Regions from separate parts of the Homo sapiens genome. Here regions 2, 3, 4, 5, 6 and 7 are each linked to region 1. Evidence: promoter capture Hi-C in 16 types of primary human blood cells and fetal thymus (Javierre and others, 2016). All regions are on one chromosome and are shown on one strand. The core of a region is centred on a gene start or on the middle of the fragment in contact, and the rest is flanking DNA. Distances in the headings are between cores, read along the strand shown.

Region 1 (4,226 bases), core at 986-3,485:
ACAACCCAGCAGTAGATATATTAAAACCTACAATTTTCAGGGATACAATCAATATTTAATTCTTTTGAGGGTTTTGTGTTTAATACAAGGACACAAACACACGTATAAAATGACGATGTCAATACTGATTAAACAGAACAACAAAATAAGAAGCTCAAATTATCATCAGCTATTGTGTATATCTGAAATAACAATAATGCACTTGATTCTGAAAGAATGATTAGAGTTCCTACTCTGAAAATCTAATTGTCTTGATGTGACGAAGTGAGAAGAAAGGATGATTTTTCTAATGAAAAGCATGTATACGGGTAGCCCTTTGCGAGATTCTGTCAAAACCCTGAATTTTGCATTAGCTGTTTTACCACCCAAACGTTTTTACCGAGGATGTGCAGCAATGGGAACTCTCATACACTGCTTGTGGGAATATAAATCAGTATAACCACTTTGGAAAACCATTTAACATTGTCAACTACAGCTCTACACACAAGTACTAGAACCAGCCATTCCACTCCAGGGTATACACCCTAGAGATATGAGTGCCCATGTCTACCAAAAGCCGCCTAAAGGAATGCTCTGAGAAGTGTAACTTGTAATAGTTGCAAACTGGAAACAACCCAAATGTCCATCCACAGTAGAGATACATAGTATGGATACTCATACAATTAAACAGAAGCAGCAATGAAAAAACTAACCAACCAACCAAACAACTGCTACAACATGAATGAATTTCACAACAAGGATGAATCTTTCAGAGTGAAAGAAGCCAGACACAAAGGGTACACTCTTATTCAAACAGGCAAAACTAATCTCTGGTGACAGAGGTCAGCATAGAGGTTCCTGGGGCTATCTAGGAACAGGCATGAGGCGTTATTGGAAACAGTCTACATCTTGAACTGGGGGATGGTTACTAGGGTGGTGTATACGTATGAAAAGTTCAGTGAGTTGCATACTTAAAATCCGTACACTTTATGTATGTTTTATTTTTAGAGGCAAAAAATATTATTGACAGCCTGTCATGTAAACATTTTCAATAACCATCATAAAACTCTAAATTCCTGGGAAAGAATATTGTTATCAGAGTATATTTACTGCCACAAACACTGCATTTGCTGAGCTAAAGTCAAAACTTAATACAGGGAACAGGAGATGTTCCTTTTTTCCAATGTTACATATATAAAAAGACCAAACCTTTCTGGCTTGCACTCCCTAGGCCAAATTCCTTTAACTGTGTCATTTAATCGGTCCTTCCTTGTGTGGCACTGGCTGTCCACTGTCCCAAGCCCTCGCATGTCCTGGATGGCCGGTCATCATCCACACGGGGGCTGAAAGGCCCGGCTCCAGCACTCCTGTGGTCATCATCCTGCTGAATCGCTTTGAACTACCCTTGGCCTAACCGCGACTCCCATCCCGCTTCCCTCCTGCCTCGCCACTGCAGGCCTGTCCCTTTGCTTTCTTAAAACTGCGCACCGTCTGAGGCCACTTCGAGCCTACTGGATCCCTGGTTCCAACCCAGTAGGATCACAGAAGCAGGGCCAGCTGCCAGGTAGGGGACACCAAGGGCAGAAACCTCCGGGGCCCGCAGCGCACCGGTGACCGCGAACCCGCGTGGCTCCCCTCAGGCTGAGTCGGCTTCCACCCTCCCACCCGAGCCACCGGGGATCAGGGCCCGGGAAACACGCTCGGTCCTTTTCGGCGCTTCCGGGTTTGAAAACCGCGGCTTGCTATGACGTGTGACCAAAATGCGGGGCCAGCTGTCCCAGAGAGAATCCCATCCCGCGCCGGGCCGGGTAGTGGGAGCCACCGGGGTGGGGGGCGGCGCGCCCGGGGTCGCGGGCCGCTCCGCCAGTTCTTGGGCCGACCCCGCCGCCCGGGCGCGCGTGTTTACCTGAAACCAGGAACACGTGCTGCCGGGCGCCAACCCCGTCCCCGCAGTCCACGCCAGCGGCCATGCCGCCCGCCTCTTCCGGGGCGCCGCAGGCTCAGCGCCGCGGGCCTCAGTCTCCCAGCCCCGCCGAAAATGGCGGGAGAAGGGTCTGTTCCGGGTGGCGCGGCGCGCTGAGGGACCGGCAGCGCCCGGGAGGAGGCCCAGGGACCGAATTTCGTTTCGTTTCCGAGACCAGCCTGCTGCTCGTGTTACGTTTTTAAATTTAGCGCCAGGCGAGGGGCTCTGAATGCCGGCCGGTGGCCGCAGGCAACGGGAAGGGGCCGCGGCCTCTCCCTCGCGGCTCCGCTAGTGGTAGGTGCTCATCGCGCGCCGCAGGGCGCCGAGTGACGCGGAGCGGGGCGGGGTCGCCGGGGCCCCGCGCTCTGTGGCTGCACCCAGCGGCCCTCCATGGTCTAGCCAGCGGGCTAGGATTGGGTCTGCGGGGTGTGTGCCCGGACAACGGGTGACGCCCGCCACACCCCCGGGGCCGGGGGACTCACCTGGAGCTAGTCCGTGTTAAGGACAATAGCAGTCACATCGGAATCCGAATGCAACTCTTAGCCATGGTCCTCAATTATTTGTGAATATATATTGGTCATCAGTTGCATTCTGTGTTGCTATTGATGTGAGAATATGTGTGCATTGTGAGCTACAAGGGATGTCCTCAATTTGGACTCCGTCCTCATCACTAAAAGAGGTGCACAGTTTTGGGCTCAGAATATGAATTTGTTGTTTTGGAGAACGCTGTATACTGAGTTAAAAACTTAGACATTTATTTAAAAAGTGATGTTTAAAAAGTTAGAGCCATGAAATTTGGGGATTTAAACTTTTAAAAATAACATTTTAATTGAAAAGTGTTGTTTGGTACATGGTTTTTAAGAAGAAAGTACATATTCCTTTCATACTTTAGAGAAAAGCACGGGCCAGGCGCAGTGGCTCAGGCCTGTAATCCCAGCACTTTGGGAGGCCGAGGCGGGCGGATCGCCTGAGGTCAGGAGCTGGAGACCAGCCTGACCAACAAGGTGAAACTCCGTCTCTACTGAAAATACAAAAATTAGCTGGGTGTGGTGGTGCACATCTGTAATCCCAGCTACTACGGAGGCTGAGGCACAAGAATCACTTGAACCCAGGAGATGGAGGTTGCAGTGAACCGAGATCCCACCACTGCACTCTGGCCTGGGCTACAGAGCTGGACTCTGTCAAAAAAAACAAAAACAAAAAAATCCACAAAAACCTATTTTTTTTTTTTTTAAAGAAAAGCATGATGTATCTCTTTTATCCCAGATCCCAGGGGTAACTGTTAACATTTCTTCTCTATTCTTGCAGAATTTTTCCATGCAAAAACAAGTTAATGTCTTATTTTTGCACAATTGAAAGAATAATATACATAACTCATGCACTTTGCTTTTCATGTTTAATCTTGAAGATAGTTAAATTTAGCAGCACTAAATTTATCTCGGCCCTCTGAAAAGGTTTTTAACTTCAAACCTGTTTCCCATGGGGTGAGACCAATACAGCTGCAGTTGATTGCAGGACACAGCTGGTGGAGAAGAGGCCTTTCTGGCTGAGGAAAGGCGCCTCTTGCCAGTTTTGGGGCAAGGAGCAGCAGATTGGTACTGCTCTGATCTTCCCTCTCCCCCAAAACGACTGTAGAAGATGCTGTGGTGTATAGCACAAATCCCCAGGCACACCATCGTCTTACTAACAGCTACAGGAGCACCCCATTATTCCTGTAGGATGGGATCCAAAACCCCCAGTGAAGGCCTAAAACCGCAAATAGTACCAAACCCTAATATACTGTTTTTTCCTTTGCATGTATATCTGTGATAAAGTTTAATTTGAAAATTAGGCCCAGTAAGAGATGAACAACAATAATAATAAAATAGAACAATTCTCACAGTATGCCAGCATCACTACTCTTGCAGCTACTAAGTGACTCATAAGGAGGGGACCTTCTGCAGTGTGGATCCGCTGGACAAAGGTAGAATTCAGGTCCTTTGCAGGACGAAGCTGGATGGTGCAAGATTTCTTCACACCACTCAGAACACTGTACAATTTAAAACTTACGAATTGTTTCTGGAATTTTTCGTGTAATATTTTTGGACCAAGTTCGACTGGGGGTAACTGACACCTTGGAAAGCGAAACTTCGAATAGGGGGAGCTACTGTACATGAGAAATGTTACCCATGATTCCCTTGCTCAGACATACATACCTGTTTCATTTTTCTCTGATCCTTTCTAGCCCTTGGCTGTATTAATGTATATTTTTGTGGTTGTTGTCACAATTTAGACTGTTTTGTCT
Region 2 (4,226 bases), core at 1,199-3,698, 840 kb after region 1:
GCAATTGTAATAGAATAGCAAATTTTAAAAGCCAGTGATAAGCAGGATGTAGTGGCATGCAGGCCTGTAATCCCAGCTACTTGCGAGGCTGAGGCAGGAGGATAGCTTAAACTCAAGAGTTTGAGGTTGCAGTGAGTTAGGATCACACCATTGCACTCCAGCCTGGGTGATAGAGCAAGACCCCATGTCTTAACAAAAAAACTAACAAGAATGCTGCACTGGGCTGAAACATACAAATGCTGCTGGGTGTTTATAATCTGATTGTTCTGTGCTGTATAAGGATCAGAATACAGCGGTGGCAACCTCAGTTGAAATGTTCTAACTTATATAATGTGCTGAAATTTTTAAAGTCTTCCCTCTTTTTCCTAGGTTTAATAATGATAGAATGAAGACCACAATAAAAGAGACCTCTACTTAGCTCAGCAATTCTTACCTTGTAAGTATTAACTCTGAGTCTCCCTATTACTGTTTGGTGTCATGTTCTGGTTTATTTCTGATTTTTTTCCCTGCTTATCCTATTATGGTAACTTTCTAACCTCTCCTAGCCCCTCTACACGTTGAGATTTGATGTTAATTAATAGTTTAGAGCAAGAATAATGCCATTGCCTTGGTAAGTTATTTAGGGAAGTATTTTATACCCAGGCCCTATAATCTCCAAGTCTGAGAATCACAATTTTGAGCCCTTTTCCTTCAAAGGAATTAACAAATAGGTAATTGTCTTTTTTAGTACTCATTATTCAGGTTTATTGGTCTTATGGTTTTATAAATTGAGAGTATTCTCTCCACTTGAGAAATGATTTTGTAAAGTCTGTTTTTAATTTCATTAGGTTACACTTGAGACTTCTTTGTGAAGAGCTTAACATTTAGCTGTTAAAACTTGAGGAGGTGGCCGGGCGCGGTGGCTCACGCCTTGTAATCCCAGCACTTTGGGAGGCCGAGGTGGGCGGATCACGAGGTCAGGAGGTCGAGACCATCCTGGCTAGCACGGTGAAACCACGTCTCTACTGAAAATAAAAAAATTAGCCGGGCGTGGTAGCGGGCGCCTGTAGTCCCAGCTACTCGGGAGGCTGAGGCAGGAGAATGGCATGAACCCGGGAGGCGGAGCTTGCAGTGAGCCGAGATCACGCCACTGCACTCCAGCCTGGGAGACAGAGCGAGACTCCGTCTCAAAAAAAAAAAAAAAACAACTTGAGGAGGTGGGAGAAACATGAAGGCAATCCCTTTTCCTTCCCTTTCTTTTGTTGGTTTTTTTTTTTTTCATTTATTCAGTACATATTTATTGAGTATCTACCATGTTCCTAGTACTTTTCTAGGAGCCAAAGATATAGCAGTGAACAAAACAGATAAACAAGTAAGTACATAAATTAAACGATTTCTGACATGGATTCAAAGTCAGAGGTTTTGGGTGGGGGCCAGGACCATGCATCTTTAGCAAGCTCTCCCTGAGTAGGATGGCAGCAGATGATCTGTGGTCCATGCATAGTGTAAAGAAACCGCTCCGAAGAGCCAGGGAGCAGTGTCCAGCTGCAAGTCCTCCTTTCTTCTGTCAGGGAAGTTTGCAGAAGTGAATCAGTGGATAGCAACACCAAAGTGATACCTTCAGGGTAGACAGGAAGGTAGTCTGTTTAGTTGAAGGTCAGGAGTAGTCACCTTAATTATTCAAGACATCATTTCTCGCCCTGGATTGCCCCATCGCCTCCCAAGCTAAACCTCAGATATTTCCTGCAAATATCAAAAAGAGGATTTTTCTCCTTTTTCCTTCCTTTTATATATATACATGCATACCTCTTTTTTAGAATAAGAAACATTTTTCCCCAATTCATTTAACTTTTGAGACACTTAGAAATTCTGAAAGAATAATTTTAACAAGTTAACTGAAATTAATATTATGCCTCTAGAAAAACTCACAAGATCAAGGGCATATAAAATGCGCAGGATACTTATTTCCATAAAAGTATTCGAGACCTTAAAATCAGTTACCAAAAAATGTCATTTCCATCCATTCCTTGAGCTAATTCTGCATCTCTAAAGAAAAACTCAAGCGCAAGACTTTCTATTCTTGATGTTGAGGGCATGTCTCTGTTTAAATGAAACTAGTGCTTCAGATGCTTTTATTACATTATCTCACAGTGACTCAAATAATGTGTATATGTTGGGGATGGCCTTATGATCATAGACGATCAGCCATTGAACTCAATAAGGTGAGAATTTTTAAGTGGGGGATCAATTAAATGTTGAAAACTGTTAATAATAAGCCAGTTTGCAAAGTAGTAGTCAAATGCCACAGGTCACTTTCTTTTTCTAATTTTCTCCCGGTTACATTTTTGTCTCTGGAAAATTAGAATGGAAATATCTGCAGATCCCTAAAGAATCCTATATAGTACAGGCTTGGATTCCTTAATTAGTGCCTTGGAAGCCAGCTCAGCCCTTCTTCAACTTAACTCTTTAAAAAAAGAAGTCTTTTTAATTCGTACTACACTCAGAATGGAGGGCAGTCCACTTTTCAACAAGAAATAGGTATCATTGAATTCTAACAGATACATAAGCACAGATAATATCACATTCTTCATTTCATCTCCTTTATAAATTTCTAAGCTAGCAGTCTTTCTTGGATACTCTCCAGCATCTTTTAAACATAGGCCATTTATCATATTTCATAGTTGGAATGCTTTCTGTTGTCTGTTCTAGGTAGATTCCCCTTAATCTTAGATTCTAAAATGGTGATGTTTCCAATTAAACAATACCCAGAATAATAGGTACATAGTGACTGGCAATAGTCAGTGATGCTGTGTGTGATTGTGTGTTCCCCTTCTATCATTTTTTTAATGTTTGTTTAATGCCATTTATTTTTTAAGATGGGATATATATTTTAATTAGCTGGGCGTCGTGGCGGGTGCCTGTAGTCCCAGCTACTCAGGAGGCTGAGGCAGGGGAATGCCGTGAACCCGGAGGGCAGAGCTTGCAGTGAACCGAGATCACACCACTGCACTCCAGCCTGGGCGACCGAGTGAGACTCCATCTCAAAAAAAAAAAAAAAAAAAAAAAAAAAAAAAAAAAAAAAGATGGGATATATATATATATACACACATATATTTTATATATAATATATATTTACATATATATAATATATATTTACATATGTTATATATAATATATATTTACATATATAATATATATTTACATATGTTATATATAATATATATTTACATATATAATATATATTTACATATGTTATATATAATATATATTTACATATATATAATATATATTTTATATATAATATATATTTACATATATATAATATATATTTACATATATTATATATAATATATATTACATATAATATATATTTACATATATTTTATATATAATATATATTTACATATATAGATATATTTTAGATATCTATATATAGATCGATTTTAGATATCTAGATAGATAGATGTATTTTCTTTTTTTTTTTTTTTTGAGATGGAGTTTCGCTCTTGTTGCCCAGGCTAGAGTGCAATGGCATGATCTCGGCCCACCACAACCTCCACCTCCCAAGTTCAAGTGATTCTCCTGCCTCAGCCTCCTGAGTAGCTGGGGTTACAGGCATGCACCACCACGCCTGGCTAATTTTGTTTTTTGTTTTTTGTTTTTGTGTAGACAGGGTTTCTCTGTGTTGGTCAGGCTGGTCTCGAACTCCTGACCTCAGGTGATCTGCCCGCCTCAGCCTCCCAAAGTGCTGGGATTACAGGCGTGAGCCACCTTGCCCTGCCTAAGATGGGATTTTTTTTAAAGCTGTTCATTTGTGGAATGTGGATGTTCTAGAAGTTGTAGAACAGTGATGTTCATGTATACAATCCTGTCAAACAATGGCAGTTTGGGGTTCATTTTTACAAATTAAATATAGAGATGGAGTATTTTTCAAGTTTATTTTTCAATTTAGAGATCTTAAACTTTCGCTGCTTAACAAAAAATTCAGAAATAATTATATGTCTTTATTTCTTTTTCTTTTTTGAATTATTTTTATTTTTCACATTGCATTTTCGAATACAGACACTTAAATTATATATTTCTGTTTGTAAATGTAAACATATGTTTACCTGCAAATGTAAATACATGTTGACATCTGTTATGTAAATTTAAATATATATTTGGTGCTTAAAAAAATCTCAAAACATTGTCAGCAGTTAAGAATATTACATCTCTCTTTTTAATAATCTACAATAAAAATCTTAAAA
Region 3 (4,226 bases), core at 491-2,990, 770 kb after region 1:
CAACTAGATTAAATTATATTTAGTATAGTTATACCAATCAATATATCTCATATTTTTTATCATATGTTAACTAATTATAAACTGGCAAGTCACACGTAACGCATCTAATTAGTCAAAAATAGTTCAATACTGACCGTTTAAAACCACACCTGTCTTAGTACAAATATGACAAGTAAAACAGAGATACAGAGCCACACTGACAACCAGGAAGCTATCAGTGCTGCACTGTCTCATCATCCGATATTACATACCGAAATATTTAAGTATTTCCAAATTTTTCCATCAATCCAGATAGCACATCCCTAAATAAACATCAACAATGTCCTAAGTGCAGAAATCAAGCTGGTTTTTCTTATCCTGGATTCCAGAATGTTCTGACCACTGCCCTACCACCACCACCCTCTCCCACACACAGACATTTTCACCCTTTGAGACACTGCAGTGTGAGGAAGAGAATGGAGAAAGAAAGGGAAGTCTCATGACTTCTGAAGTTGAAAGAGGAATTATGTTCTGAAAAGGAGAAAGAAGATGACAGTTTTGCTTAATTCAAATATTGAGTAAATATTGTTGCTTAATCATTTTTTAAAAGAAACATTAGTGGCTATTTTTTTGGCACAACTGTTTTTAAATTTAATTTATAAGGATGACACCATGATGTAATTGAAACTTGTATCACACACAAAAATCACTTTGCCCCTCACGCATAACAACATCCTGCTCCCCCAAACCCAAATCATACCTTTCATAATACGGCCTTAACCTGTGTCCTTAAATACAAAGCAACCTAAATGCTAAAGTGAAGAGCCTAACACAGCTAAACTGGGAAAAACATGAGGTGGAAATGTATCTCCCTTGGAAAAGTAAGTAAAATGTATGTTAAGGAAATGGGTAATTCAGGGAACCCAAATATTCAAACAAATTCCCAGATGTTTGTGCTGCTGTCTGAACGTTTTAAAGAGGAAACAGCTTTTCATTACTTCATGAATCCTCCCTCATTGTGAAGACGATTTCAAAGCCTCCAGCATTTAAAAGGGAAAGTCCGTTCTCAGAGTCGTCGGATTCCCGCTGTGTCTCAGGCACCACAATGTTCCAGAAACTCACGGAAAAAGCTCAGGCCTGTAAACATGTCTGATCTGGATCTCCCACTCCTAAGTCTGTGTTTATATATTGATAATTAAGATGGATTTATGAAGCTCAAATAATATCACATTTCATATTTCTCTAATCAGTATCTCAAAACAATTCAAACAACAGTTATTTTAACATTAACAGCATGGGGAGGACAGCCACGAATCCCCACACCTTCCCCTGGCCATCACATGCTTGCACCGGGAAGTTGTAACTAGCTCTGGCAGTGCCAATGAACAAACGCGGTTAAAAATCAAGCAGAAAACGGCTGAATGTGCACGCTCAGCTACATGATTTTCACTGTCTAAAACTGGGAAAAAAAATCTCAAACAATTTTCACCCAATTTGGCTTGCCTTTCTCGTCTGTAAATTGCAATACTGCCAAGTTACAAGTAAAATATTCTGCCAATTTCTCAGTTTTGTGAGCAAAGAAAAAAAAGAAAGCATACTTTCCCTAATGGAATAAAGTGTGTGTCTCTGTGTTTGTGTGTGTCTGTGTGTGTGTGTGTGTGTGTGTATTTATATTTGATTAATTCAACATCATATGGGACTCCTGTCCAAATTTTTCAAAATACACATACACACACATACTTTGTGTCAGATCATGAAAAGTAAATCTCAAATCCAGATTGAACTCAGAGGGACTAGGAGAAATATTGTTTGTACCTCACTTTCTACTATTGTGCAAGTTAGATAGGATCTACCACTCTTCTAGATCTTTATTCTAACATGACTCATATCACAAATGTGATCGAGTGACTAGTTTTAGCCTCCACAAAAATGAATTTAACTTCTAGAAAAGGTCCCCAAAGCAAATTGACAGCCAAAGACAGTTTCAATTCAGAAGTGCTGGTAGTCATGGTGGTAGAGGTTCTAGGGTAATGTCTCATTGAGATGCGAGGATGAGGCTCTGAACTCAGGAAGGAAACACTCAAAATGTCCTGCAGGCATTATGAACAGCAGCCACTGAATCCACTAATATCCTTCCTCAGACTTCACTGCTTTTTAAAGACAGCAAAATATTGAGATAGATTTTTAATTGTAAATTCTGAAAAACAGCCACACCCAAGACTTTAATACCTCTCTTTCTTCTCAAAGTTAGGAAAGTGGTATGCTCAGTGTCAAATAACTAATGCTCATTAAAAATGGTCAGAATGCCGTTGCAGATGAAAAGTGAAGCTCTGGTGTGTGAAACAAGAACCCAAATGCATTGTCCACAATGTCTACTTCAGTACAGCCATTCTAGAATTTGCCCATGTGCATCAAAAGCCTTAAAAAGTAGCATGCCGTCCAGGCACAATGGCTCACACCTGTAATCCAGCACTTTGGGAGGCTAAGGCGGGCAGATCACTTGAGCCCAGGAGTTTGAGACCAGCCTGGGCAACATGGTGAGACCCCCATCTCTACAAAAAATGCAAAAATAGCAGTGTGTGGTGGCGCATGCCTGTGGTCTCAGCTACTCTGGAGACTGAGGTGAGAAGATCACCTGAGCCCAGGAGGTTGAGGCTGCAGTGAGCTGTGATCACACTCCACTGCACCCCAGACTGGGCAACAGAGTGAGACCCTGTCTAAAAAAAAAAAAGTAGCATGCCATTGTACCCCATAAATAGATACGCCTACTGTGTATGTACCCACAACAATTAAAAATAAAAATAAAAAAATAAGTAGCATGCCATAAATACTAAACAGACACACACTCAGACTACAGGATACTCAATGTAGCACTATTCATAATAGAAAAAAGAGGGGAAATAAGTCAAACTTTCAACAATAAGAACATGTGCCGTAAAACTTAAAGTGTAATAATAATAAAATAAAATAAAATAAAAAATTTAAAAAATAAATAAATAAATAATAAATAAAAGAAATTTGTTAGACAAAATGTGGTACATTCTTCCATCGGTGATGATACAGAAATTTAAAAATCATGTTCTAGAACAATATTTAACAACATAAAATATTTGCATATATTATGTAGTCATAAAAGCAAGTTAAAACATATTTGGATGTTATATATGTTATCCTGCTTCATAAAGACATGAACGGAGGGATAGACATCAATGACAGCATTATCTCTGGGTGATGGCAGGGAAAGTAAATTTTATTTCCTTCGTTAGGTTTTCCTGTATTTTCCAAACTTTCTACAATGACAATACATTATTTATATAATTAGATGAATAATTTTATTTTTAAAATTAGCCGTGTGTGATCCTTACAAGAAAATTGTTTTCTTTTTCCCTCTTGGTCCTATCCCACCACTCACCCCCTAAAATGCAGCCTGAATTTCACCAAGTTTCCTGAACTCAGGTGGGTACTTTTCCTGATTATGTCAAATGGAAACAGTCCTAGAGGAAATTGGACTGTAAAAACCAAATGCTTCATAAGCTCATGTTCAAAGAAGGCAAGTAAGGACCGTGAGTGGCCAGAAGAATCTGGTGATGAAAATGAGCTATTAAATGGATTCATTACCTTGGTTTTCACTAATGAAAATGTTAGCGGCTTTGTGTTCCTCAATTACATTTAGAGGCAAAATGATGGCATTTCATTCATTTATTCAGTCAGTCATCATATACTTACTGTGCACCTCAGATGTGGCTGCCTATTTCCAGACCTGGAATACACAGAAGGCAAGACTTGATGCCAGGCCCCTCAGTCTACTGAATGCATGGCTGTTCTGGTGGTTGTCAGGGCGTCCCTCCTCCTCATCCATCTTCTTCAGCTACTGCAGTTCTTTATATACTAGATTTTTGTTAAAGTTTCATTTGAATAAAACATTCCTTTGCTTAGAAAAAATATGTTCAGAACTTTTTACTGTACTTTTTGTTTTTTTGAGACAGGGTCTCACTCTGTTGCCCAGGCTGGAGGGCAGTGGTGCTATCTCAGCTCACTGAAGCCTTGACCTCTCAGGCTCAAGTGATCCTCCCATCTCAGCCCCAGAATAGCTGAGACTATAGCCACGTGCTACTGCACCCAGCTAATTGTTGTATTTTTTGTTGTATTTGTTGTATTTTTGTGGTTTTGCCATGTTGTCCAGGCTGGTCTTGAACTCCTGTCTTTGCTGTACTCTTATTGGATCGACTAGATGCCCTAGAAATGAG
Region 4 (4,226 bases), core at 941-3,440, 750 kb after region 1:
TCAGGGCCACCTGGAACTCTTGTAGATCCATTAGCTGGATGTCCCAAGTTCTTCTCACACTGTGAGAACTGGACTGAGCTGTCACTGCCATTGCCGACTTACTAAACCCTCCAAAAATGCAGCAGAGTCTGAGGTCGTGATGACCACTCCTTCATGGATCCATGGCACAAATCATGAAATGAGAGAATTATTTCCCTTGAGTTTGAACTTGGCCTCAGAACTTCTCTTGAACCCCTTGACACCCTCAAGCAGCCTTGATCAAGCAGAATAAAGACTTCACAGGAAGTCTTTTCCCCATACCTGAGCTAAGGCCTTCTGATCTCCCATAAAGAGCTACTGTGAAGATCAAACTCCAAATTAGGCTGTGAAATGACCTATATTTGTCTTCTGTGACCCTTAAGCTCTCTTAACAAGAGTTATCCCCCTTGTTTCTAAACTGCCAAAGTTTCATGCTGTATGTCTTCCCCTGGCCTACCTCCCATGAATGTTCTCAGGATCTTTCTTCCTCCAACCTGGTTCTCTGTTAAGACCCTTCTTTCTTAGTTCCAAAGATAACTGCTCATTTAGGCTGACAAACTCACCAAATGTGCAAATGCTCCACAGGAACATATTTGCATTTTTGAAAGTCCCTTCTGGAAACAATGGCCGGAATGACACCAATGGGGGAAATTTCAGACCTTAATGTGAATTGGCTAGAGGAGAAATTTGGGGACCTGAAAGAGAAACTGCTCTCAGTCATATCTCCTTAATTTTCTGTCAACCCTTTTTCAACCAGTGACTGACCTGGGTCTTTTCTAGATCCATTTCAGCAAGCCTACTTAACCACCGTATAAGAACATAACCCATAAAACACCCTCAAATTCCCAACAGAAGCTAAGGTAGCTGAAAAAAGAAGTACCTGATTTCCATGGGCACATGTTAAGTGGAAAAGTTTGCTCCCTTCACCCAAAAAAAATCTTGCCTCTGCAAGCACTAGCCTGGTACCTTCCAGAAGGTGAATAAATTAACTTGCCAATACCACTTAAGGCAAATGGCTTAATGTTTTCACCAGATCTGACCAGGCCCCAACAACAAGGAGTGGGTGGAGATGAGCGTGTATTTTCATTTATTTCACGAGCCCTATTCTCTGTGGACTTGTAGTTTCTAAACCTAGGTACAAAAAAAAGCTTTAACTGCATGAGTAACTTTTGTTTTGTGGTACATTATTGTTCACTTTCAATAATGTAACTCAAAAATGACTTATAGGATTACAAGAATATGGTATAAAATTTCTAATACAATTCAATGACCCTTAAGCAAAAACATGATCACCATCAACTGAAGTTATCCTATACAATGGCAGGAAACTGTCAAGCCCAATTATGTGAAAATGCAAGAGAAATGTTTAGACAAGCTCCTCACCAAGACTTTCCATTGCTCATACAATAGAGGAGGATTAAGATCAAAACTATAATATTATATCAGTTTTATGATTATAAAATATGCTATTCAAGTTAGTTCAACGTAGCATTGTCTGTCCTAGTACATATATTAGGATAACATTATAATGTATTTCTAAGAGGCAAATCACAGAAGCCACTTACCAATCAAAATGTGTAACTCCAGGTGAAGCTAGACAAAATTATTGATACAAATTTTCTCCAGAAGAGTGATTTAGGAATGCAAAATACTCTAGACACACCACCCATCCACAGTTGGTGTGTCTTGCTTTATTAGATGCAATCCATTTCCTCAGACACTTGTTCAATTGAGGTCTTGTAAAACTATTAGATTAGCATTGGGCATATAGTAAGTGCACAAAGAAATTTGTTGTTGTTGTTGTTGTTGTTGTTGTTGTTGTTGTTGTTTTGAGACGGAGTCTCGCTCTGTCACCTAGGCTGGAGTGCAGTGACGCGATCTTGGTTCACTACAAGCTCTGCCTCCCGGGTTCACGCCATTCTCCTGCCTCAGCCTCCCGAGTAGCTGGGACTACAAGGGCCTACCCCCGTGCCCAGCTAATTTTTTTTTGTATTTTTAGTAGAGACAGGGTTTCATGAAAGAATGAATGAGTGAATTGTTGGATAGACTAAGTATCTTCAATAAATGCAGAAAATGCCAGTGTAGAACCATATTACACTTTCTTCAAAAATGCTATTCTACTCTGCTTGTTAATTATCTCCTTAAGATAATTTCACTTTTTTAAATGTTTTAAGGCATTTGTTTTACTAGCAATGAATTAAATGTTAGTTAAGAATCTGCACGTCTAATCCATTTAGATATAGCATGTATTTTCTTCCTAGTTCATACATCTCATAAAATGCAAAAAAAAAGTATAATCCTGCTAGCATAAGTCATTAGCAGACAAAGATAAAAACTCATGAGCTCTGTGTTTTATTTTATCTCACATTCTGCTTCATAGTCCAACCAAGTTTCATAATGAAAATTTTTCTCAGCCGACGCCTCAAATGCTTTATTCTTCAAATACAATTGATTTGACCAATATCGCTGTGGTTTGGAAATGTTTTTCTTCCTGTTGGTCTCTGCCATGATCTCCTCTGGATATAGTTCAATTAGATGCCTTCTCACTTTTTCACAAGTTGCCTGTTATTGTAAAAGTTTGGGAAAACTTTGAAAAAGAACTATAAAACGTTTTCACTGTCAATAGAAAAAAATGGATTGCTTGAGCCAGACACAGCTCCCCATAGAGCTAACCTTTTGATCCTGGAATCCTTTCATGCGCTTAAGTCTTCACTAGCGTCAATGGGAGTGTTGTGTATGCAAGGGCAGCAGGATCAAGTTCAGTCTCTTCTTTAGTACTCTGTAGCCAAGTGGGGTAGCCAGCTGAATCTGGTTTAGTTAAAAAAAAAAAAAAAAAAAAAAAAACACAACACTTTCCTGATGCTTTGAAGTTTTTTGGGCAGTGTAATAATATCAGGATTTGTAGGACGTTATTTTGCATAATCCTTAATAAGATATTCTTATGGCTTCAAAAAGTTAGTGGGTTAAGAGAAGCAAGAACCTCCAGCACTCATAGGAAATATTTTTTTAAGTTCTGGGTAGAAATGGCTCAAAATGCATCTCGGGAAGATACATAATTATAAGACTGTCCAAATGTGTGTTCAGGCAGGAATGCACCTAAAACTATTCTTCATAGATGGATTTCTACTCTATCTTTAAAAGATAGAGATATAATATAATAATCTCTCAAAAGCTCTGATGAAAACAAAGAAGCTTGCTGGAGGATTCTACTATGTGTGTGGATTAAGTAACTCTGTGACTAATCCAACTATTTGAATCAAAACAAGGCATTCCTTTAGAATCTTTATCACTCTAACCTCACACTCACTCACTGATGAGGACTTTTTTCCAGGCAAGGTCAAAGGGCTGACCAAGGTGATTCTGCACCACCAAATAGAAAGGAGGCTGGAGAAGGGAGAAGTGCAGCGGCAGGATACAGAAGCCACAAAATCTCTCTGCTGGAAGCCAGTTCACCTTATTATTACCAAGAAACTGAGGTTCACTTTCTGGCATTTTGGCCTGAGCATTAAAATTTTAAATTAACACCATTGAACACAACCTACTCTTTTTTTTAATGAGCATTTTATTGTCACTTTGTGGAAGGGTACTGAAACCTCTGATTTAGTATAATCATATGATTATGATTTATTCATATTGGGAATTCAGCAGCATGGGCAACAACAACTCGGGTCTGGGGGGAAAAAAAACAGCCTCACTAAATAAGGGATGGTCCCACCACTAAATATGGGGTTAGGAGTGAGTTTCTCTTTGGTTAAATACACATGCACACATATTTCAGTAGCACGACAAAGCGAAAACAAACAGAATAAAGGTGAACATTGTACTTGGTAGTTGGAAATGAAGTGTGTCATTTTAATATATATGAATAACTGATTTTTCCCCACTTTTTGGAATCCAGATGTTGGTAATCTTTGCCTCAGAATGACGATTGCCTTTTTAAGAAATCTCTTAAAACTTTAGTAGTGGTCCTCACACAAAAAGACACTGGGTCTGGGCACGGTGGCTCATGCCTGTAATCCCAGCAATTAGGGAGGTTGAGGCAGGCAGATTACCTGAGGTCAGGATTTCGAGACCAGCCTTGCCAACATGGTGAAATTCTGTCTCTACTAAAAATACAAAAAAAAAAAAAAAAAAAATTAGCCAGGTGTGGTGGCGCATGCCTGTTATCCCAGCTACTCGGGAGGCTGAGGCAGGAGAATCGCTTGGAC
Region 5 (4,226 bases), core at 1,082-3,581, 720 kb after region 1:
AGAATTCCCCTAAACTTAACAATCAGCTCTGAAAAGCAAGCGTGAGCCAGTAGATCATGCTACTGCTTAAGAGCTCACACCCATTTACCACAGATATCATCTCGAAGAGGCAAGTGGAAGGAAAATTGAACAACTGAGTCATTTCCCCAAAATAAATTAACTTATCATTAATGATAAAGGTAAGTGGCTACTGCCACCTCTGCTGCCACCACTTTCAACCTCAAAGGTTCAGGAAGAGATGAAATCAGTTACCAAAACGTTACAGAAACTATTTTTTTTTATATCTGAATTTTAGTGTGTGTCAGTTAGAAATTCTGTGCCAAGTATGGAATCCTTCAATGGAGGTAGCTTATGTGGGTAGAGGTTTATTGCATTCACATGTCAAACAATAAGGCTTATTACTTCATGGTCAGAAAATAGCTGCCTCAGCTCCAGGCAATACATTTGTTTTCAAGCCAAGATGAAGGGGCAAGCAGCACAGCAGTTTCTCTGCTCTTTTATTAAGAGCACAAAAGCTTTCCCAGGAGTCTTCCTTCCCCATTCCCTTCTTCCCAGTGGACTTCTGCTGCTTAAATCTTACTGGTCAGAACAAGGTTACTCAGCCACCCCTAGCTGCAGGGAAGCTATCCTTATCCTTAATAGAAGATATTCTGATTGGCTGAAACCAGTCAAGATCCATTGCCCGGGCTGAGTACATTGCTGCCAATATATGAACAAACTCTGGGTTCTGTTAGGGAGGAAGACTTGGGTAATGGAGAATGGGCAAGCTGGCAGCAGAGTCTGGTGCAGTTTAAGTCAATATTTCTAACCCCAATTTACACAGCAGATAAAAAGTAGAAGGACTATTTTAAGTGGAAAAGAGCCAAGATTGGCATTTGCTTGCCAGAGCATAAGATGGAAATGCAGGAAGAGCCTGGGAAGTGTCTCTCATATCTAAGGCAGAATGCTACCAGGGGTACAAACGAGTAGGGCCTGGACATCTTAGCTGCTGCTGGACCTCCAGGTCCCACCGGCCATCATGCTGACTGAACAGCCACTGTAAGAACAGGAAATGGGGTACAGACAATGAAGTCCAATGTTAAAGAGGTTTCCCTGTCCAGGAAAACAAAGGAACAATAGACTCCTACGCTTAATATTTTAAGAGTTTTGTGGTGCTTTCTGAGGACCTGAGGCCCACTTGCTCTTCCCTTAGGACATAGCTCATGTTTCATAAAGCTGGGGCGAGCAGTAGGACTGAGAAGAAAAGTGAGAAGATTCCTCCTTCCCTGCCTCTAATGAACAAACCTTGGGACTAGCAAAGGTTAATTACTTGCCTGATCCAGGCTTATTCCTTGAAAAGGAGCTGAATGACTAAACATTTGTGAACATTGAGTCGCACAGCCCATCAGCAAATGGAGCCTGCCCTACTCTAACCAGGCACATGACCATCACCTGGCCAATGGACTAATTGTAGGACTGATGCTGGATTCAGAAAAAAAGCAAGTCAGAGCTGTTCAGGAGGCTACAGGGGCTGGGGGAGTGAGAATTACAACTAAACAGGACTTAAATGTAAAATTAAAAGTTCCATGTTAGCTTTTCTGAAATAAAATATAAGTCTTTTACTTGAATAAGCTGAATAAATGCAAATGATATCAGGCAGAAAAGATCTGAGATTTGTCTATCCACTGCAAAAATTACACATGTGAATTGTTTATTCTTCTAGTGAAACATATCTAATGCTTTTCCCCTCTCATAATATTAACTTGTTTAAAGAACATTTATACGATAACATCTTGAGTTCTTTGTTTTCTAGGTTTCTCAACCAAAGTTCTCTTCTTGAAGTCTTTGTGAAAAAAAAAAATTGCTGCCTCTTTAAACTAGTGCTCAGGCATGAAAATGTTTAACTAATTTCATTTTCTTGATAAAGTTTATCTGTGATCAGAATTGAGTCATACCAAAAATACTTCTATAAGATTTGACCTTTTACTTAAATCCCACATCGAGATAATATACTCAAAATGGTTATCAATAAGACCTTTGTTTTTTAAAGCACATCTAAAATAAATCACTTTTTAAAAGCAGAAAACTGTTTTCAATTAAGTCTTTTACAGGCAATCAGCTTGAAAGTTATACTTGCCCTTGTATTTTTTATGTATATAAATTATGCCCAAGAGTGCCATGATAGCAGCATTATGCTAACTATGCCTTACCTTTGTATTTACTTCTTGTCAAAATAAGCTTTACAAATTAATTGGTTTTAGAGTGCTTTATGACCAATAATGACTGCATTATACTAGTGCCAGAGTAAAAGCAATGCAAGCAGCAACTACTTTTTCTTGTTATTGAGAAACACCTAGTCTAATTAGATAAGGATAATTAATTCTTAATTTCTTCTGATGAAGAGTTTTCTTGCAGTAGAACAACTTTACCCCATTCCAACAATGTTTATCATTTAGAAAAGCTTTAAAGAGACTTCTGCTTGAGTCTCTGACCCAAGTAATCCTGTGATACCTACACAGGGCTAACTACTAGTCTTGGCCTCCTGTATGTTTTAACCACCTCACCCTTTCATCAATGAATCCTATCTGCTCTTCAGATGCTGGGAGCATACTAGATAAGTAGATAATTTTAAAAGTATCCATTCAAAAATAGGCATTTCATGCCTATAATCCCAGCATTTTGAGAGGTTGAGGCAGGAGGATTGCTTGAGCCCAGGAGTTTGAAATGCCTGGACAACACAGCAAGATCATGTCTCTGGCTTTAAAAAAAAAAAAAAAGGCATTTCTCTTATTTTTTAAGTTTCCCATTTTTCCCCATTTGCTTTCGCCCTAGATCCCATCCATGTCAGTGGCTGCTTTTATTAGTGGCAGATTTTGCATTTTCCTTAGAGATTTACTAAGAATATCCTAGAGGAGCAAAATTCAGAACTAAACAAGAAAAAAAGAACAAAATCCAGGAATACAATAATTATATATATATTTTAATCTAAATTACTATATAATGAGTTTGCTGCTTCTAAAATTAGTGATAAGGGGCAGTTTTTTAAAAATTAGATCAAGGTTGGAAGAGATGTTTACCCAAAGGACCTAGAGATGAGAGAAGAGTCAGCGTTTGGAAAAAGCTGAGAATCTCATTAGCCCAAAGGGGTGAGTACAAGGCAGGAAAGGAAAAGCAAAGCTGAACTTTGAGAAGTTGGATAGATAGGAGCAAAGAGCAGTCCAGGATAGGGTCTCGAACAACTAGGACACCCTTTTCCAGTCCCCAACCACATAGAGGAAGGGGAAGAAGAGAAGAACAGTGACCAAGCTGAAAGTCTGAATTGAACGCACAAAAAACAGCAATAAGAATGACCATAGACTTCAGGTAAAGCCATTCTTCCTCTCAAGTCTTTCTTTTGGACCAGTTACTGGGCCCAAGATCTCTGAGAAGTTTTGCCACAGAAGTAACATCAGTACAACATGTTAGCATCCCGGTTAACTGGATTAAGAATATTAGGAGCTACATCTCCAGCCCTCTTGGATAAGCCACCTGCAAATGAAAGAGCCCCATACCTAGAACTTGCCACCCAAAAGATATGTCCCTGTGCTGTGGCCCAAACAGCTCCACCAACTGGACGAACCTATAACTTGTTGACAGCTTTCTCTCTCTGGTTCTCAGATGAGGAATGATGATAAAACAAAACCAAAAGACATCTTACTGAGGAAGATCAGCTCCAGTGGATTTCTCTGAGACAACCCAAGTTAGATGGAGCTAATGGGAAAAAACACAGGAATTCTTTAAACTATCATTCAAGCAAAACATCTCTCCTAACTGTTCCTTTTAAAGTAGCTAGACCTGTTAGAGATTTTATTGAGTGGATATAAGCACTTTCTACAGAAACATTTTTTTTAAAGTACATCACCTTTTCATAGAACAGAGGAAGAGCTGTCACATCAGTTGCTGATGCCAAGCACAGCAATATAAAGTATATCCCCTACGAGTTAGATGAAGCAGAGGAAAGGGATCAAGAGATTAATATACCTCTTTGACAAAAGCACCCAAAATAAATAATTTTATTATTTATTGCAATTCTCTAATGCCTTATTTTTCACTGAGCTCTAAAAACATGATCATATCCATCAAGTAATACCCATATATATGCATGGGAATTCAATTGTAATTTACATGTTCCTATACTCTCCATGGATGCTGTGATGGTTAATTTTAATGTGTCAACTTGACTGGGCCATACGGTGCCTGGACATTTG
Region 6 (4,226 bases), core at 1,025-3,524, 700 kb after region 1:
AATAAATGCTCCCTGGATTGCTGCAAGACCTTAGCTCTAAGAAGCTCAATGTATCACAAGTAAAATAAATACACAGACTCAAACACCAAGACACATTATAATCAAGTTGTTGAAAACAAATGATAATGGGAAAATCTTTAAAGCAGCCAGAGAAAAGGGATATATTACAGATAGGAAAGCAATAACTTGAAGTACCACTGATTTCTCACAAAAACAATGCAAAAAAAGCTATAACCTAAAATTCTATGTCTAATTCTATATCCAATTTTAAAACTCCTTCAAAAATAAAGACAGATTCAGACAAAAGAAAGCTGAGAGAATGTATTGCCAAACATACTTCAGGTGGAAGATATACACGTAAATAATACAAATGATTCTTTTCTAATTTATTAATTCATAAAAATAATTATTTAAATAAAAATAATTATGATGTATTATATAATACATAAATCTCTGAACTCCTCTCTCTGTGGTTTTTCTTTAATCCAGCATGGCATGATAAACTAATAGACATTTCCAGGTGAGGTCACAGCAGAGAACAGAGACACTAGTTCTACACTGGGGCCAAAAAAACTCAAGAGAAATTCATGGCAAGCAGATGTTCTCTCTATTACCCACATAAACTTTATACTTCTTAGGTCTTTGATCTCCTTACCCTCCTCTTCTCTCATTAGAAATAACTTCCCCCTCCCCTCTCTGCTTTTCTAAGATCTGACTTTCTTTCAGGGTCCAATTCAAATCCTTCCTCCTTTACGCAGCTTTTCTAGGCTTATCCAAGGACAGCTAGCTAGTTAATGGCAGTTGCACAATTAGAACCTGGTCCTTCTCAAACTTCTTCAGGTGGTAGGTGTCATGAAAGTAACAGCATCTTTGCAAAACACTATTAAATACTGCTACACTTAGGTTTTTTTAAAGTTAATGTGTTATGCTTAATTGGATATTTTATTTTATTTTATTCCACGTTTTTGCCTGTGACACAGCCCTCAGGAGATCCTGAGAACATGTGCCCTCAGTCAGATCTTTCTTACACTAGATTCTAGTACAGAAACAAACACCAAAGCTTTAAAAAGTATTGGGAGAAAAGCATACATAATTCTGGGAAAGTGTTTTTCTTAAAATCAAGAAAAGACACTTATTTTTCCAATATTTTAGTGGCAAAACAACTTGGTCTTGCCAGAAGAACATCAGTGTTCTACAGTTCATTTTCTTTCTCTCTCTCTCTTTTTTTTTTTTTTTTTTTGAGACGGAGTCTTGCTCTGTCACCCACGCTGGGGTGCAGTGGCACGATCTTGGTTCACTACAACCTCCGCCTCCTGGGATCAAGCGATTCTCCTGCCTCAGACTCCTGAGTAGCTGGGACTACAGGCGCGTGCCACCACGCCCAGCTAATTTTTGTATTTTTAATAGAGACAGGGTTTCACCATATTGGCCAGGATGGTCTCGATCTCTTGACCTCGTGATCTGCCCGCCTCAACCTCCCAAAGTAATGGGATTACAGGCATGAGCCACCGCGCCTGGCCCTGCAGTTCATTTTAAAGATCATTGTACTGTATGCCATCCTAAAATTCTCCTTCACTTTCCATGACTTAAGGTTCAGGTGAGGTTCAACCCCATCCTGATCTCCAAGGAGATTTGCAGAAAAATAATTTTCTCAGTATTATATGGATCTACAATAAAGTGTACTCTTTGTCATCTGTCATGTCTGTGTCATGTTTCATTTTAGAACAAAGATACCTTAGATTTATAGCCTAGGACATAGCTAATTCCAATATCCTAGGTGTAAACCCTCTTAGTTACTCCATTAGATTCTCTAGTCTCAGACTACTTTCTATACTCTGCCTCTTAACACATGTGTTCAAATTAAACAGAAAAATTCCTGATGTGTTCTTGCCTGGTGGTCCAAATTTTTAAAAATAGAAAAAGAAAAGCCTTATGTGGAGAAAAGAAGCCATTTCCACAGGCATTCTCCTAATATGGCACTAACAAAGGATCCAGGGGCTGAAATATGGCTATATCTAGAGCACCCGTGGATCTCTAGGGGTCTGTAAAGTACTCCCTTACCTCATGGTGCTTGGCACCCAAAGAGGGGCCAAAATGTTTGCTACTCATTCCTGAAGGAAATCCACCGTTGTCACCTGAGGCCTGATGAATCACACATCACACGACTCAGCAATGCACTATGGTTTAAGCTACAACCAACTGCAAAGAAAAGCAACTCCATGTTCTCCATAGAGGAGACAAGGACACAAGGGTCAGACTGATTCTCTGAGGTAAGCTAGGCCCTTTTGGAAGAGCTACTGATTCAGAATTCTGCCAGTATTCAGAAGTTGGAATACAGCTGGTCTCTTAGTCACCGATAAGGGTAGAACAAAAAGAAATGAGTGTAAACTTCACCTAGAGAAATATAAGTTAGACCAAAGGACAAATCTGTGGAAGACTCTCAGCAGGATACAATGCTCATGTGTGTGCCAAGCATTTTTAAATTAGTCAACTGTCCTCACCAGAGGCTGTGGCTAACTAAACATCATATCACCATATCCAGGCTGGGCATGGTGGCTCACGCCTGTAATCCCAGCACTTTGGGAGGCCAAGATGGGCAGACTGCTTGAGGTCAGGAGTTCAAGACAAGCCTGACCAACATGGTGAAACCCTGTCTCTACAAAAAATACAAAAATTAGCCAAGTGCGGTGGTGCACACCTGTAGTCCCAGTTACTTGAGAGGCTGAGGCATGAGAATTGCTTGAACCCAGGAGGCCGAGGTTGCAGTGAGCCGCGATCCTGCCACTGCATTCCAGCTTGGGTGACAGAGTGAGACCCTGTCTCAAAAAAAAAAAAGCATATCACTATATCCAGAAATGGTGATAAATAATATATAAGTAATACCACCATTCAATATATTCTTTAATATATTCTCATACATTCTTAACATATTCTCATATAAGTTGAATTTCAATAATATATTCAAGAATGTATTATTATGCCTTCAAGAATATATTACTGTAACTTCAAGAAAATATTGTTATGACTGGGGAACTAATATAAAAGTCTTGTTCAACCCAAAAATGGTTCCTGGGATATTTCTATACAATGTAAGAATTCAGAAATTTGGTTTTAAATGACTACTGAAATAAACCTTGTGAGGTAAGCAAGCTACATGAAGACAAATAAACCAGTGGGATTTTTTTTAAGTATGTTTATTCAAGTTGGGGAAAAGCCACATAATTCACTATATGTCAAGCCTAAACTTAGATTTTTCATCATCATCTGACAATATGTGGCAAGCACAGTTTTTGCAAAACAGTCAAACTCCCAATCAGTAATAAGGAATCTTTTAACTCAAGGTTGCATATTGTTCTTTGGCTAAAAATAGTAGAAAATCTCAATCCTTTAAATACAGAATAATCTCTCTGATCTCTCTAACTTATTTTACTTCCTGTGATCACATAATACTGAATATCTATTACGTGCCTAGTATGTGGAAAGCTTTTCTCAGCATCAAACCAAAATTTTAAATATCAAGAAAAAACAAAAAACCCTCTTAAAACTTTTTACGCTCTAAGAGGGAAGAGAAATAAAAAATAAACAAATTTTAAAAAGACTTTTTAACTCTTTAGCATGTTTTGAAAATCACATTATACGTTTTAGCATGATGTTATTAACTAATTTGTATGTATTTGTTCCCTGTCATAGTTAGTAGGAATATTTTCTCAAACTTCTGAGAATATTTAAAATCCATATTCAAATGATTTTTTTAGGAGCCTAAGACTTTACAAGAACACATTTTAGAACTGACTCTAGTCACCACAAACAAATTCAGTGATGTGTACACGCGCATGCATGAATACATACAACAGTTATGCTCCAGACACCACTCACTCTCCACAACTCCTCACTCCTCGACCTTCTACCCCCAGCCCCCTGCCCCTGGGGACGCCTGATCTCCAGTCTGGGAAAGGAAAGTGCCTCCTCCACATCCTCTCCCAGGGTCTCTCCCCAGACCTGAGTCGGTGGGGAGAAATGCTGACTCACAGACACAGCCGGTTAGCAGCTCTCACTTCCCCAGCCCTGCTGAGCTGAGCAACCCCAGGGAGCGTGGAGAAATTGTTGGTACACTCTCCAGAAGACTGTGGGAAGAAACACCCCTAAGCCTTGAGCCTGGAGTCTGGCGGGCTGCAGGAGCTACCAGCAGAACCTCAGGCACAAGGGATCCACATGTTCACAGCTGC
Region 7 (4,226 bases), core at 924-3,423, 670 kb after region 1:
CATTGTGGCAAGTGCCTGTAATCTCAGCTACTCAGGAGGCTGAGGCAGGAGAATTGCTTGAACCCAGGGGGTGAAGGTTGCAGTAAGCCAAGATTGTGCCTCTGCACTCCAGTCTTGGTGAAAGAGCAAGACTCTGTCTCCAAAAAAAAAAAAAAAAAAAAAAAAAAATAGTGGGCCGGGTGCGGTGGCTCAAGTCTGTAATCCCAGCACTTTGGGAGTCTGAGGCGGGCGGATCTCCTGAGGTCAAGAGCTCAAGACCAGCCTGGCCAACATGGTGAAACCCTGACTCTACTAAAAGTACAAAAATTAGCCAGGCGTGGTGGCACGTGCCTGTAGGCCCAGCTACTCGGGAGGCTGAGGCAGGAGAATCACTTGAACCAAGGAGGCAGAGGTTGCAGTGAGCTCAGATCATGCCATTGCACTCCAACCTGGACAACAAGAGTAAAACTCCATCTCAAAAAAAAGTGCTGACAGGGAGTGGACAATGATGATGATTCCTCTTAGAGGAGGTGAACAAATTCATCTCCAAGATTCCTGGGAGTCCATGATAATAGAGTGATAATAAGAAATAATGATACAGATGAGATGATCAGCTTTGTTTATTAAAAATCTTGCCATTGGAGTCCTTCAAAGATAAACTTGGGGACTATAGTTTTACTACTGTCTAGCATATGATAGTGTTTAGTAATATAAAATGTCTTTTTACTTGCTTGCCCTGTAACAAAAAGGGAAACAAAGATTTTTTAATGTCTGGTTATTTCCAGTGATTACAGTGTCTAGTCTTCTTTGTTATTTTTTTAAGCTTTTGTTATAAAATTTCTCAATCACACACAAATGTAGAGGAGAATAGTCTAGTAGACTCCCATGAACCCATCACCCAGCTTTAATCATTTTCAACATTTTAGTCCAGCTTTTTTAAACCCTTTATTTGACAGATTTTCATATATTTTTATTCAGCAAGTATTGATTGAGCAACTACAGGTCAGGCACTCTTCTAGTGCTGGAGATACATGTATAAAAAAAGAAAATAGCCAAAAAATACCTGCTCTCCAGGCCACAAGGAAGCTAAAGTGCTTACATTCACTGACTCAAACTTTCCTCCAACAGGCTTCTCACTGCTACATCTTCATCCTCTCCTTCTGCCTTCTTTCTAGTTTCTGTCTTGGGTTCATCTGGTTTGGTTTTAGCATATCTGTGTTCTTACCTAAACCACTCCAACTCTTCTTTGTAGAAAAATGTAGCGCTAAATTGATAAACTAAATACTTCACAGGGACCTTTAATGACTGACATGAATCTAAATTTGCCTACTAGAGAACTCTCTATGCATAGAGAAATGTTCCAAATCCTTATTTCTGGCCAAAGACCTGTGTATTATTTTTACTTTCCCAGATAATTACCTTTAACATTATTGGATTTTTCACATACAGTTAGATGATTTTCACACTGATAATTTGGGAATTACATTGCCCCTAAGTTAACCCTTTTCTACCTAAAATTAAATTTTGCTGCTACCCCAAAACATGAGGAAATTGAATGCCCCCAAGGGCTTTGTAGTTCAAGTCATAACACAGTGGTTTAACACCTATAGAACCCCTCTCTGATCTTTTGGGATTATTTTTATCAATAAAGTGAAAAAATGAGGGAGGGAAGAGGGAATACAGGAGAAAGGCATCACACTTTCCTGATATTTCTCAACATAACCAGCAACTACTTTCCATTCCTTTCAATGCAGCCACTAGGCCCTGAAATACAGTGCACAGATGGTGTTAGAAAGGACTCAGGCCTTGTGTGACCTTCCTGGTCAGTGATTCTTCCTGGCCCAAGTCCAAGAAAGACCTCCACCCATGACCGTGAAGTGAAAACTTATCTAACTCAGATACTACAACTCCAACCATCTCCAGGTGAAAGTAGTCCTTTGGACCAAGAGACTACAACCTTTCTCATATGTGATATTTTGTAAGGTGCCAATAATAGGCTCAGCAATGGGGACCCCAGGTCTGAACACAAAACTGTGAAAGAAATTATTGAACTCTGAGAATGTCACCTAATAGAGAGACTGCTGTGCTCAGAGTATGAGACATGGGTCCTAATCCCAACTGTACCACTGATTTGTTGTGTGACAACAGGTGAGTTTATCTGTCCACACTCCAGTTTCCTCACCCGTAGAAAGGGATACCCACCCTGCCAACTTTACCCATATATTATGAAGACAAGTTAGCAGATGACTTAGTGCTTAGAAAAGTTAAAGCACTTGGAAATGAAACACATTAGTATGCAGTCTCCTTCCCCATCCCCTTTCTACATCTCATTTTGTGTTTCTCTTGCTGAACCTCTCCAAGAAACCCTCTTAAGCAATGAAAGCAAAGCCTTCTCTTTGAGCATCAATTCTGTAATCCTCCAACTGTATTTGGAAGGGAAACAAATTCTCCACCATGTTAAAGGCCTGTTTGTCCTCCTCTTCCCCCTAACAAAAAGAAAAATTGCAATAACTATCACTATTAATATATATATATCACTATGTTTGTCACTATTAAGCATATATCAAGTAAGTGACTTGCATTGTCTCATTTGATCTCCACAAAAACCCTCTTTGATAAGTATGAGTAGCCCCATTTTACCAATGAGGAGACTGAAAATGAGTTTAAATAATATGCCCCATTCAAACATCCTAGGGACTTCCAAATCCCAGTGGTGGAAGAAGGAATCCCTTCATGTCAGAATTTCGGGCACTCTAGCAAGCCTGAAATCATGTTAATAGCAAGTTAGAGAACTTTAGTTGGAGGATTGGAAGGCTTGCTTTTCTGCATTATCCTTCAAACCTCCCCTCAGGGAGCACCTATGAAAATAAATCAGTTCCAGAGTTCTCACCCAAACTGCTTTCAGGTTAGACAGCCAAGGATTCCAGAACAAAAGTATCCAGTGCAATTTAAAAAGGGGAGAGGCACACAACAGGGAAGCATGTCAAAGTGTGCACAAACAAGCTCGCCCTCCACCACCAGGCGTATTTACAAGTGACCACGTAAATTGTGATTTAACGGTCCAGCATGTGGTATAAAATGTCAGCAACTTTCACAGAGAGAGAAGTCTGGTTTTTACACCCACACAGCACTGTACACTTGACTTGAGCGCCCCGAAAATTCCCCTAAGCATTTTTATCATTACGTATCACTCGTATCACTACACAGTTTAGTCAGCCAAACCATATCCTTTTCCAGCTTTAGATAAATTGCCTTCTGACAAACTGCACACAGACAAAATATCACGAAGTCCCCAAGTTGTAATCTCTACCCTGTTTTTCTACAGAGATGAGTAAGATTTTCCTATTTAGTTTTTTTAAGTACATAAGCAGCAGATGCATGTAATATACGAATATTGTCATTAGTGTGTTTACTCGCTTTCTTGAAATATATCTGAGTTTTATCACTACCTTCGCCCAGATTATGCCACTTGCCACAAGAAAATTACTGCACAAAGACATATTGGTTTAAAAAAAGAGGTGGTCATTTGCCTTTTCTGAACTCTCATTATAATGGATAAAGCTTTAGCTGTACTTTTGGGGAAAATGAACATCATCAAAAAGTGTAAGCCTTGTCATTTTTACCAAATGTCATTTTTACCGCTTTGTCATTTTTACCAAACTTACAGTCAACATTTAAACAAATCTTTTAATATACTGTAGAGAAGCGAACTTTATAAACCATTACAAAATGTTTAATCAGAATTCATTTTAGCCAATCTAGTAAGAGGTCAGCTCAGTTTTCTGTGCTGTAACAAAGCTACGTCTATTTTTAAGAGAATACAGTAACTAATACTTTATTCATCCAGCTAATATTAAACTTATGTTCAATAGCTATTAAGAAACATACTTAAGACTACGACTGCAGGTAGAAAAACACACACACAGTTTCTAAATACCCTGTACTTATTAGAGTTGCTAATCCAAAAAAAGTATTTGTCATGTAAATGAATATACACAGCTCTTTGTCAAGCTAACGAAACTTGTGATAAGTAACACACACACACAAACACACACACACTGGCAAAGCTAGCAACCACTGGCCAAGTAAACCAACAATAGAGCTAAGAACAGCAATAGAAATATCCCCGGACACCTAGTACCTAATAGTGCCCAGTGAATGGTAGAAACTCTGTGTTTGTTCACAAATACTAATGGGTTTTAACCTAATAGAAATGTCTTCGGGAGAATTGTAAATATGTTGGACAT

What was found. Contacts are between HindIII fragments. The CHiCAGO score rates a contact against its expected background, and 5 or more counts as called.
Region 2: a contact is called between a fragment that was not itself captured here and the fragment with the promoter of RNASEH2B in region 1, in 6 of 17 cell types (naive CD4 T cells, monocytes, naive B cells and 3 more). The highest score is 7.6, in naive CD4 T cells.
Region 3: a contact is called between a fragment that was not itself captured here and the fragment with the promoter of RNASEH2B in region 1, in 7 of 17 cell types (fetal thymus, monocytes, neutrophils and 4 more). The highest score is 8.7, in fetal thymus.
Region 4: a fragment that was not itself captured here is called in contact with the fragment with the promoter of RNASEH2B in region 1 in 5 of 17 cell types (total CD4 T cells, total B cells, endothelial precursors and 2 more); the score reaches 5.8 in total CD4 T cells.
Region 5: a fragment that was not itself captured here is called in contact with the fragment with the promoter of RNASEH2B in region 1 in 2 of 17 cell types (total CD4 T cells and M1 macrophages); the score reaches 5.3 in total CD4 T cells.
Region 6: a fragment that was not itself captured here is called in contact with the fragment with the promoter of RNASEH2B in region 1 in 1 of 17 cell types (M0 macrophages); the score reaches 5.1 in M0 macrophages.
Region 7: a contact is called between a fragment that was not itself captured here and the fragment with the promoter of RNASEH2B in region 1, in 4 of 17 cell types (neutrophils, total CD4 T cells, monocytes and 1 more). The highest score is 6.5, in neutrophils.

The regions. Positions count from the first base shown.
Region 1 is chr13:50,907,800-50,912,025 of GRCh38, reverse strand. RNASEH2B (ribonuclease H2 subunit B) reads right to left here and starts at 2,235. Exons shown (of 11, transcript NM_024570.4): 1 at 1,886-2,235. The coding sequence starts at 1,949. RNASEH2B-AS1 (RNASEH2B antisense RNA 1) reads left to right here and starts at 1,314. Exons shown (of 3, transcript NR_046552.1): 1 at 1,314-1,543. RefSeq lists silencers at 1,481-1,530, 1,741-1,980, 1,991-2,420. The HindIII fragment of the contact is 8,311 bases long and covers 1-4,226 here.
Region 2 is chr13:50,064,307-50,068,532 of GRCh38, reverse strand. DLEU2 (deleted in lymphocytic leukemia 2) reads left to right here. Exons shown (of 14, transcript NR_152566.1): 5 at 370-436. Among named protein-coding and RNA genes, the nearest start is that of DLEU1, 16 kb to the left of the region's middle. The HindIII fragment of the contact is 6,390 bases long and covers 1-4,226 here.
Region 3 is chr13:50,138,044-50,142,269 of GRCh38, reverse strand. The region is part of intron 2 of DLEU1 (deleted in lymphocytic leukemia 1); the gene reads right to left. Among named protein-coding and RNA genes, the nearest start is that of DLEU2, 15 kb to the right of the region's middle. RefSeq lists an enhancer at 713-1,386. The HindIII fragment of the contact is 7,969 bases long and covers 1-4,226 here.
Region 4 is chr13:50,155,427-50,159,652 of GRCh38, reverse strand. The region is part of intron 2 of DLEU1 (deleted in lymphocytic leukemia 1); the gene reads right to left. Among named protein-coding and RNA genes, the nearest start is that of DLEU2, 32 kb to the right of the region's middle. The HindIII fragment of the contact is 2,044 bases long and covers 1,169-3,212 here.
Region 5 is chr13:50,189,002-50,193,227 of GRCh38, reverse strand. The region is part of intron 2 of DLEU1 (deleted in lymphocytic leukemia 1); the gene reads right to left. Among named protein-coding and RNA genes, the nearest start is that of DLEU2, 66 kb to the right of the region's middle. The HindIII fragment of the contact is 223 bases long and covers 2,220-2,442 here.
Region 6 is chr13:50,208,886-50,213,111 of GRCh38, reverse strand. The region is part of intron 2 of DLEU1 (deleted in lymphocytic leukemia 1); the gene reads right to left. Among named protein-coding and RNA genes, the nearest start is that of DLEU2, 85 kb to the right of the region's middle. The HindIII fragment of the contact is 2,423 bases long and covers 1,063-3,485 here.
Region 7 is chr13:50,236,024-50,240,249 of GRCh38, reverse strand. All of the region lies in intron 2 of DLEU1 (deleted in lymphocytic leukemia 1), which reads right to left. LOC124900337 (a long non-coding RNA gene) reads right to left here. Exons shown (of 2, transcript XR_007063796.1): 2 at 906-4,226. Among named protein-coding and RNA genes, the nearest start is that of DLEU2, 110 kb to the right of the region's middle. The HindIII fragment of the contact is 2,738 bases long and covers 805-3,542 here.